2 separate regions of the Homo sapiens genome follow, and region 2 is linked to region 1. The links are contacts of gene promoters, found by promoter capture Hi-C in blood cells and fetal thymus (Javierre and others, 2016). All regions are on one chromosome and are shown on one strand. Each heading gives the region's core, a stretch centred on a gene start or on the middle of the fragment in contact. The rest is flanking DNA. Distances are from core to core; before and after follow the strand shown. Region 1 holds the start of HCN3 (hyperpolarization activated cyclic nucleotide gated potassium channel 3). Region 2 holds the start of ADAM15 (ADAM metallopeptidase domain 15).

Region 1 (4,213 bases), core at 483-2,982:
TCATGATCACACCACTGCACTCCAGCTTGAGCAACAGAGCAAGACCCTGACTCTAGAATGAGTAAATAAATAAAGTCAGGAAATATTAGAGAGGAGCTGGATGAAGGATGGTCAGATGGAGGTTAGATCAGATAACCAGACATAGTTTAGAGAAGTTCCCTGGAATAGAACATGGAGAGCAATCAATGAAGGAGTCGGGGAGAGAGAAGTAAAGATTTCACTTCCACCTCCTGGAACATTTTCCTAGATTATTAATTCATTCAACAAGCATTTACTGAATGTCCACTATGTGTCCAGAATTATGCCAGGTGCAAGGTTCCTGTTTCTCAGAGTTTCACAATCTAACAGGAGAGAAAATCTGTAAATAAATAATGAGACCATGCTCATGCCTGTAATCCTAGCACTTTGGGAAGCCAAGGCAGGAAGATCACTTGAGCTCTGAGTTCAAAACCAGCCTGGGCAACATAGTGTGACCTCATCTCTAAAATAATAATAATAATGGTAGCCCTGTGACATGAGTTGCTCAAAACAGTGGTGCCCTGGCTGCTGTAAAAAAGCTCTAGAATAGACCCTACCTGAGGAAAGGAGAGTTGGAAATGTGTTCCTAGGTTTCCTAGAGAAAGCAAGATCTGAACCAACTGTTCGAAAGTGAATTGGAGGAGAATACCAGGCAGAGAAAATATTTGCAAAAGCATAGAGACAAGGCAGCACAAAGTCTTTCAGCATGATTGGGGCTGTGGCTTTCAAGAGAGGGACTGTCAGAAGAGAGACTGTTGAAACTAGGTCCAAATTTTTTGGGCCTGGTACACCATGCTAAGCAGCTTAAATGTACCCCTGTAGAAGATGGGAAAGCTTGATGGGCTTCAAGCAAGTGACACAGCCATAGTTGGATTTTAGGAAGGTAACTGGCAGGGAATGGAAGAAGAATTGGCCTGGAAGAGGTTGAAGACTCTTTTAGAGGTTTCCGAAGTAATTTAAGTGAAAAAATGCTGAGGGCTTGAAATGAGGCAGTGGTAATAAGAATTGGAGATGAAGGGGAGAATTTGAGATATTTAGGAATTTGTAGCACTTCGCATAGCACTGCAATTTACCTGTCTGTCGTTGGGCACAGATGAGCAGTGGCTTTATGGCTAGGCCTTTGTTTTTGTTTTGTTTTGTGTTGTTTTCCATTACTACATGGAGATGCTAAGACTAGGACTTTTGTATTCATTTTTGTTTCCTCAGCATCCACTCAATGACAGGCAGAGTTGCACTTGGTGAAGGCTGACAGAATGAATTAGGAAATTAAATACTAGGGGAAGCAGTTCGGAGGAGACCAAAAGACAAGAATATGCCTAGGACAGTGTTGAGAGAAGACGGGAGCAGGACAGAAGTCCCTGGGCGAGAGTGGAGAAGAATCCCAAAAGCCATTTCCACTTCTTCCATTGGTCCCCAATCCCTCTCCCTCCCAAGTCCTTCAAGCTACAAACCCGCGTCCGATTTTCCCGCCACTGCAGGGGGCTCCTCCTCCCTGGTTCTCAGTGGATGAAAGGCCAACGCTAGGCCACGCCCTCTCCCTGGCTCAGGCTGCGCTCCCCGCCTTCTTTGCTAAGCCACGCCCCTCTCGGAGTTCCTCCAGGATCCCGGCGTCCCAGCCCCGCCCGGTCTTGGCGCGGCCCTCGCCAGGGGGCGCCGCGCAGCCCGCCCGCCGCCCGCCAGTCTAGCACACACCCCCTCCGCCCCGCGCGCCGGCGATTCCGAGCCTACGACGCCTCCGCTAGAGCCCGCGGGGCTGCGCCGACTCCTGCTCTGGAGGGGTTGCGGGTACCTGATGGCCACAGAGGGCTCTAGGAGGCCGAGCGTGTAAGCGGGGTGGGCGCCATGGAGGCAGAGCAGCGGCCGGCGGCGGGGGCCAGCGAAGGGGCGACCCCTGGACTGGAGGCGGTGCCTCCCGTTGCTCCCCCGCCTGCGACCGCGGCCTCAGGTCCGATCCCCAAATCTGGGCCTGAGCCTAAGAGGAGGCACCTTGGGACGCTGCTCCAGCCTACGGTCAACAAGTTCTCCCTTCGGGTGTTCGGCAGCCACAAAGCAGTGGAAATCGAGCAGGAGCGGGTGAAGTCAGCGGGGGCCTGGATCATCCACCCCTACAGCGACTTCCGGTATTGGGGGCTTGGCGGGGAGGGCAGGGTACATCAATCCCACCCTCGCGGGCAGCGACACCGGGACCCGGCCCGCCCCACCCTCCACGGTCACTTCATTTCCAGCCCGGGGTCCCTTGGTGGGGCGGGAGAGTCACTTGCACCAGTCTAGCCTGGGAATTCCTGGGCGGGTATCCCCTGCCGGAGGTCCTCCGTGCCTGGACAGGCTGGGGGCACCAGAAGGGGCAAGCAGACATCAGGGGATCTCCAGAGACCTGGATTTCCTCTTTCAGGAACCCGGGACCCCATCCGGACCAAAGGAACTACCAGAGTTTGGGACCCCTGCCTCCTCCAGTCCTGCTTGCTGGAGATCTAGGAAATTATATTCTAAGTATCGGGGCCAGTCTGAGGGAGAAGCCGAGCTCCGCCATCTCCCATCCCCACACCCGCTCCTTAGCACCTGCCTAGTTCAGCATGACAGACTACCAGGAAAAATAGGGACGCTGAAGGGGGCGGGGGGTCCAGACCTCAGCTCTGGTCGCTGTCCCTAGTGCTGAAGGCGGGGGCGGCGGGGCGGGGCCGAGACTCAGAGTGACTGAGGCGGCAAAGCAGGGGCAGGACCACCACCCAGGTGACTCCCAGAGAAGGAACAGAGGGTGGGGGTGGGGCCATTTCACAGTCTCCGTCAGGGTGTACCTCTACATCAAGGTCGCTAGGGGAAGACAGCAGCCCTGTCCTTGGGGGAAATGAAGGACAGCTCTTGGATGAGGCAGGGATGTGTGCAAAGCACCTAACCTGGGGAACTAAAGAAGCAGAGAGGAAGAGGTGTGAATCTGGAGCCTCGAAATACAGTTGTAGACCCAGACATTATCTTGAATCCACATATATACACACTCCCTCTATGTCTCTCTTCCTCCCATTGTTCCTTTCACTCCTGTCTTTGCTGCCTCGTTCCCACCCAGCCAGTGCGCCTTTTCTAGTCTCCTGTGGATCTCACTCTCTTCCCTCAGTTCACTCGCAGACGGATCCCCAGAAGCCTGGTATCCCTCTGATTGTGCTTCTCCATTCTCTATACTACATCACCCGCCAGGCTTGTGACCCACCTGTGAGTCAGGCTGTGAAGATGCTTTCATGGCTAGGCGAACCCTCTTTCCCTCCCCTCTCTTAGTGTCTCACAATACAGGATTCCTCCTCAGCAGCCGAGGAGAGAAAAGAAGAATGGCCGAGGGTTTTTGTTTATTGAAAACATACAGTCTAAGGGGCTTCCCAGAGGCCCGGACTTGAGGAAGTTTCTTTCAGGGCTGAAAATTGATTTTGCAGTCCGAGTCAGAAGGGGCTAGCTCCTGAGTTGACACTGGGATTAGGTGTGTCCTAGAATTAAAACCACCATAGGTAACTGAGTCCCTGAGATTTTCCTGTGCCATTCTCTGAATGAGGGCTTCACACAGTTCCCTCTTGACCTCTTCTTTCCACGGTGTCTGCCACAGCAATGTCACTCACCCCTGCCCATGCCTCTGCCTGTGCTCAGCCAGAGTCCCAGTGGACACAGGGAGGCCAGAGGAGGAAAGGTATGCAGAACTCAAGCCTTGCTGCTTCATGATCTCCTGTGGAGCTTCTCTGTGTGTGCAGCCCTGTTTGAGGTTCTGTGGAGGGGGAAGGGCATCCCTGGAAAGCTCAATTCAGAGGAAGGCAGGATAGACCACCCCACCCTGAGACATGGATGAGCAAACCTCAGCAGAGGAACAGGATCCGTGGGTCCAACTGTGTTGGAGAAGAGGAATGGGGTGGAGAAGGCTGGGGAGGGCATGAGGTCCTAGACTAGAATGGGCAGATAACTGGAGATGGGGGAAGCAGCAGCCTTTTCAGAAATCTGGGGATAAAGAGTGAGTGAGTCATAATACCAACTAGTGCCTGTACCACACTGTCACATCTATTGTCTCCATGTAAATGTTTTCAGCAATGCTGTGAGATTAGCACAGGATACTTTAGCTTTTTTTTTTAACCTTAAAAATATTTAGCAATGGTGAGGTAAATGATATATAGTAGGGATATGTATGTAGATGGAAGAGTAATTTTATTTATTTATTTATTTATTT
Region 2 (4,380 bases), core at 1,583-4,082, 230 kb before region 1:
GAGACAGGGTTTCACCATGTTGGCCAGGCTGGTCTCAAACTCCTGACCTCAGGTGATCTGCCCACCTCAGCCTTCCAAAGTCCTAGGATTACAGGCGTGAGCCACCAAGCCCAGCCAAGCCCGGTGTAATCTGATGCAACACATGCTGAGGGCCCCAGCCATCCAGCTCCTAAGGTCAGGGCTGTGCCCGTTTCTGAATCCCAGGATTCAGCCCAGCCTAAGACACTCAGTGGACCATTAGGAAGCAGGCAGAAAAGGAGAATGAGATTTAATACAGTCTGCTCATAGAAAAGCAAGAGGGCCGCACAGAAACAGGAGGCCCAAGGCAAAACCAAAGTTTCTACCAGAGGGCTGCAGACCAGAAGCTCAGTGCAGTTCAAGGGACAGGAGGAGGCAGGTGGGCTGGGAGTCAGGAAGGCCTCATGCAGGGGCACATGGTAAGGCACATGGAATCTGAGGAAGCAGACTCCAGTCCATACTCCCTCATTAAGTTGTGTCACCTTGGCCAAGGTCTTCACTGAGCCTCAGTTTCTCCCTCTGAAGAATGGCAAGACTGGAGAGATCTGTAAGGCCTGCTCACTGGAGATCAGCCTAGAGTGGTGGTCAGGTGTGGGACTCCGGTGCCAGAGGGCCTAAGTGTGTATCCCGGCTCCTTCCCTCATTACTATGACAACGGTGTGACCTTGAGCACATGACTTAACTGCTGTGCCTGGGCTTTTGCCTTCCATAAAATGGGGTTAACTACTCCATCTGGTTGTTTTAAGGATTAAATGAGTTGTACTTACATGGTGCTGGCATGCAGCAAGTTCCATATGCATGCATGTTATCATTGGGTGACCCTGGGCAGTGATCACATCTCCAAGCATCAGTTTTCTCACCTGAAAAAAAGGAGATGATAATAACACTATCTGCCTTACATGACAATTGAATTGAATTTTTTTTTTTTTTTGAGACTAAGTCTCACTCTGTCGCCCAGGCTGGAGTGCAGTGGCGTGATCTTGGCTCACTGCAACCTCCACCTCCCCAGTTCAAGCGATTCTCGTGCCTCAGCTTCCCGAGTAGCTGGGATTACAGGCACACACTACCACGCCCGGCTAATTTAGAATTGAAATAATTTATGTACAGTATCTTAGTACAGGACCTGACATTATAAACAATGAGTGGCAGCCATTCTTATTTAATCAGTCCTAACAAAGTTCATAAAAGTGAGACTGTGTTTGCTTAGCTTTTTCCCTAGGGCCTGGATACCCCCAGCCCCCATGACACACAATAGGGGCCAAATGAATGTGTTGTGAAAAAATGAAAAACAAAAAACAAAAAAGAACATGCTGGGATTCCTTGACAGGGTCGTGAAGCAAACTGAATGTGAATGCACAGATGGAAATGTGCCAGACAGTCATTCCAAGCAGAATGTGCAAAGACTCAGTCCACAGGGAATGCGAAGTGCCAGGGCTAGTCTCAGGAGAAACTGGCTCAGAAGAGACAGCTCTCAGGGAGGGCTAAAGTAGGAAAGAGGCTAGAAAGGGACCAGGTGAGGGAAGGCTCTGAAGGCCAAGCCCAAGAGTTCTGCCTGTCTGGCAGGCAGCAGGGCCTCTGGAGTTTCTTGGGCAAAGAGTGGCTGCTTCCTGGGTAAGGTGGCCTGTGGAAAATCCCTGACAACTGTGTAGAGACATGTCGTGAGGGATGGCAGGGAGCATAGTGAACTAGGTTTGTGGTTTGGAATCAGGGCCCCTGGGGTCCAGCCAAGTTGGATTGTTTACTATCTGTGTGACTTTGAGAGTCACTTCACCTTTCTCAACTGTAAAGTGGGGATAGCAACAGTGATAGTCGATCTGGCCTGCTCACTTCTCAGCCTCACTGTGAGAACCAAATAAGATGATTTACAGGAAAGTGCAAATGAGAGTTGTGGCTGATATCCGCTTGGAGAGAGCCTGGAGGGTGCATCCTCCCATTCTCCATCACAGAGTTGGGGAGGGAGGCACCCTCGCCCTCCAGGGGTTTCCTTTGTCCAACCCAGCCTCCTCCAACACGCGGGAATTGTCAGGCCTGGCGACTTCAGACAGGAAACGCTGTCCAGTTCCCCTTCTTTCCCGCCTCGCTCCCGGGCTGGCGCTAACGCCCACCTCCCAACAGCGCCACCCGCTGGCGGATATCCTGCACCGCGGCTGCCCGCTCCTGCGCCGCTGGCTGTGCCGGCGCTGCGTGGTGTGCCAGGCACCCGAGACGCCCGAGTCCTACGTGTGCCGGACGCTGGACTGCGAGGCCGTGTACTGCTGGTCGTGCTGGGACGACATGCGGCAGCGGTGCCCGGTCTGCACGCCCCGCGAAGAGCTCTCTTCCTCCGCCTTTAGTGACAGCAACGACGACACTGCCTACGCGGGGTGAAGAGGCGTCCTGCTCGCTCTTCCGCACCGTCCTTCCCGGTTAATAAAATGCCCTGTACGCTTCACGTGGGTCGGGGACTGGGGTGAGCCGCGCACTGCCTCGCCTGCAGTCGGGAAAGCCTGCCCGCCCGACCTCTCCGAGCCAGGCCGCGCACAGGAGGCAGGGAGGCCGCGAAGCTACTAGGGAGGGGTCCGGACCTGGCGCCGGGTGAAGGCGCGCCGCCCAAGCCGGTCGGACCGGGCACCGGCTCCCACTCCGCACAGTTGCGGGGAAGCGGTAGCGCTGAGCAGCGCGGGCGTAGTGGGCGGTGTCCCCGCTCCCGAGGCACCCGGCGCGCAGCGGGGCGGGCTTTGCCGGGGGCGGAGCTTGGCTTGGGGCCGGGTGGGAGGGGGCGGGCCGGGGCGGGGCCTGGTGGCCGCGCGGCGCTGCTGGGTTCTCCGAGGCGACCTGGCCGCCGGCCGCTCCTCCGCGCGCTGTTCCGCACTTGCTGCCCTCGCCCGGCCCGGAGCGCCGCTGCCATGCGGCTGGCGCTGCTCTGGGCCCTGGGGCTCCTGGGCGCGGGCAGCCCTCTGCCTTCCTGGCCGCTCCCAAATATAGGTGAGTCCTCCGCCTGGAGTGGGTCGGGGGGCGGACTGGGAGGGAGGTGCAGGAAAGTCGGAAGGCATTAGGGTAATGGGGCCGGACGGAGACCCTGGGAGAGCCCAGCCAGAGCGCGGCCCGCCCTGGTCCGCTGTCCTGGGCCTAGGGCCCGGTGACTTGGCGATGGGGTGAAAAGAGAAGGAGGGGGGATGCCGGCGCCCCCTGCCTCCTGCCTGGTCATCCTCTGCGCGGTCCCTGCGGACACTTTCAGGCTCAGGTACCAGGTACCGAGGGGCCTGTCCAGCGCCACTTCAAGATCGTGATGAGAGGGTCGCTGCTCCCCAGGACTGGCATCTTCGCTGCTCTGGGGCCTAGCTAACCGTTCGACCCGGTGCCAGGGCGCTGAGCGGGCATGGCTTGTAGGGTTTAGTGAAGAGGATTCTCTCTAGCCTCTATTCCAGGCCTGGGGCCGCCAGGCACTCCTCACCCTGGTGCTGTTGCCACCAGTGCCTGGCCGAGCGGGAGGGGCCCGAGATGAGCCAGGAGAAGGGAGAATTGGCCAGGAAAGAGGCTGGGACACCAACTCCTCCTTGGAACTTTCACTTCCCGCTGCTGTCTTGGGCCGGGACCGAGAGGGCAGGCGCGGGTGGAGTGTCCGGAGGAGAGAGGGCCATTGTGTGTTGGGGGGGTGGGGGGTGCTCGAGGAGGAAGCAGAGGCTGTAGGCAGCGGGTGTGCCTGACTGGGCATGAGGGTGTTTAGGGAGGTGGGGGTGTTTGCACTGCTCACCCAGAAATGGGCGTTCCTGGCATCTCCGATGTGAGCGAAGGGGAGGGTGAGCGGGCACCCGGCCACAAGGCTTAGCTCAGTCTCGAGAGGGGGCGTTCCTGAAGTGGGGGGAGAGTGATTGGGAGGGAGTGGGAACCGGGGAGGGTCCTGTGAGAACCTGGGATTGGCCGGAAGGGGACAAGGAGGGCCACAGGCTGCGCAAGCCGAAAGTCTTTCTTGGGGACTTGTGAATGGGTTGGTGGGTGGAAAGCCATAAATTAGAGAGACACCCTCTCCTTCCAGTATTCTTCTTTAAGTCTCAGCATGCAATGTGGAAGCCCCTCAGGTACCTAAGGGTCTTGATGGGCTGGGAGCTGGTGGATCTGAGGGCACCTGTCACCCCCAGCCCTGCTGTCGATTCCCTCAGTACTGTCTTGGGGTGTCCTGGGACCTGCAGGTGGCACTGAGGAGCAGCAGGCAGAGTCAGAGAAGGCCCCGAGGGAGCCCTTGGAGCCCCAGGTCCTTCAGGACGATCTCCCAATTAGCCTCAAAAAGGTGCTTCAGGTGAGCTCTCACTCCCCTCTAATAAATAAACGAATCCACACACGCCCCGGTATAGCCAGGTGTCTCAAAGCCAAAGCTTGGCTGAG

The links. The method cuts DNA at HindIII sites, captures the fragments that hold promoters and counts their contacts. A CHiCAGO score of 5 or more calls a contact.
Region 2: the fragment with the promoter of ADAM15 here is called in contact with the fragment with the promoter of HCN3 in region 1 in 3 of 17 cell types (neutrophils, activated CD4 T cells and non-activated CD4 T cells); the score reaches 5.6 in neutrophils.

The regions. Positions count from the first base shown.
Region 1 is chr1:155,275,731-155,279,943 of GRCh38, forward strand. It overlaps HCN3 (hyperpolarization activated cyclic nucleotide gated potassium channel 3), which reads left to right and starts at 1,733. Exons shown (of 8, transcript NM_020897.3): 1 at 1,733-2,138. The coding sequence starts at 1,861. The HindIII fragment of the contact is 9,883 bases long and covers 851-4,213 here.
Region 2 is chr1:155,048,484-155,052,863 of GRCh38, forward strand. ADAM15 (ADAM metallopeptidase domain 15) reads left to right here and starts at 2,833. Exons shown (of 23, transcript NM_207197.3): 1 at 2,833-2,982; 2 at 4,188-4,294. The coding sequence starts at 2,904. It overlaps DCST1 (DC-STAMP domain containing 1), which reads left to right. Exons shown (of 17, transcript NM_152494.4): 17 at 2,134-2,447. The coding sequence ends at 2,385. It overlaps DCST1-AS1 (DCST1 antisense RNA 1), which reads right to left. Exons shown (of 4, transcript NR_040773.1): 2 at 786-878. It overlaps ADAM15-EFNA4 (ADAM15-EFNA4 readthrough), which reads left to right and starts at 2,833. Exons shown (of 26, transcript NR_176418.1): 1 at 2,833-2,982; 2 at 4,188-4,294. RefSeq lists an enhancer at 2,008-2,067 and a silencer at 2,538-2,997. The HindIII fragment of the contact is 11,546 bases long and covers 1-4,368 here.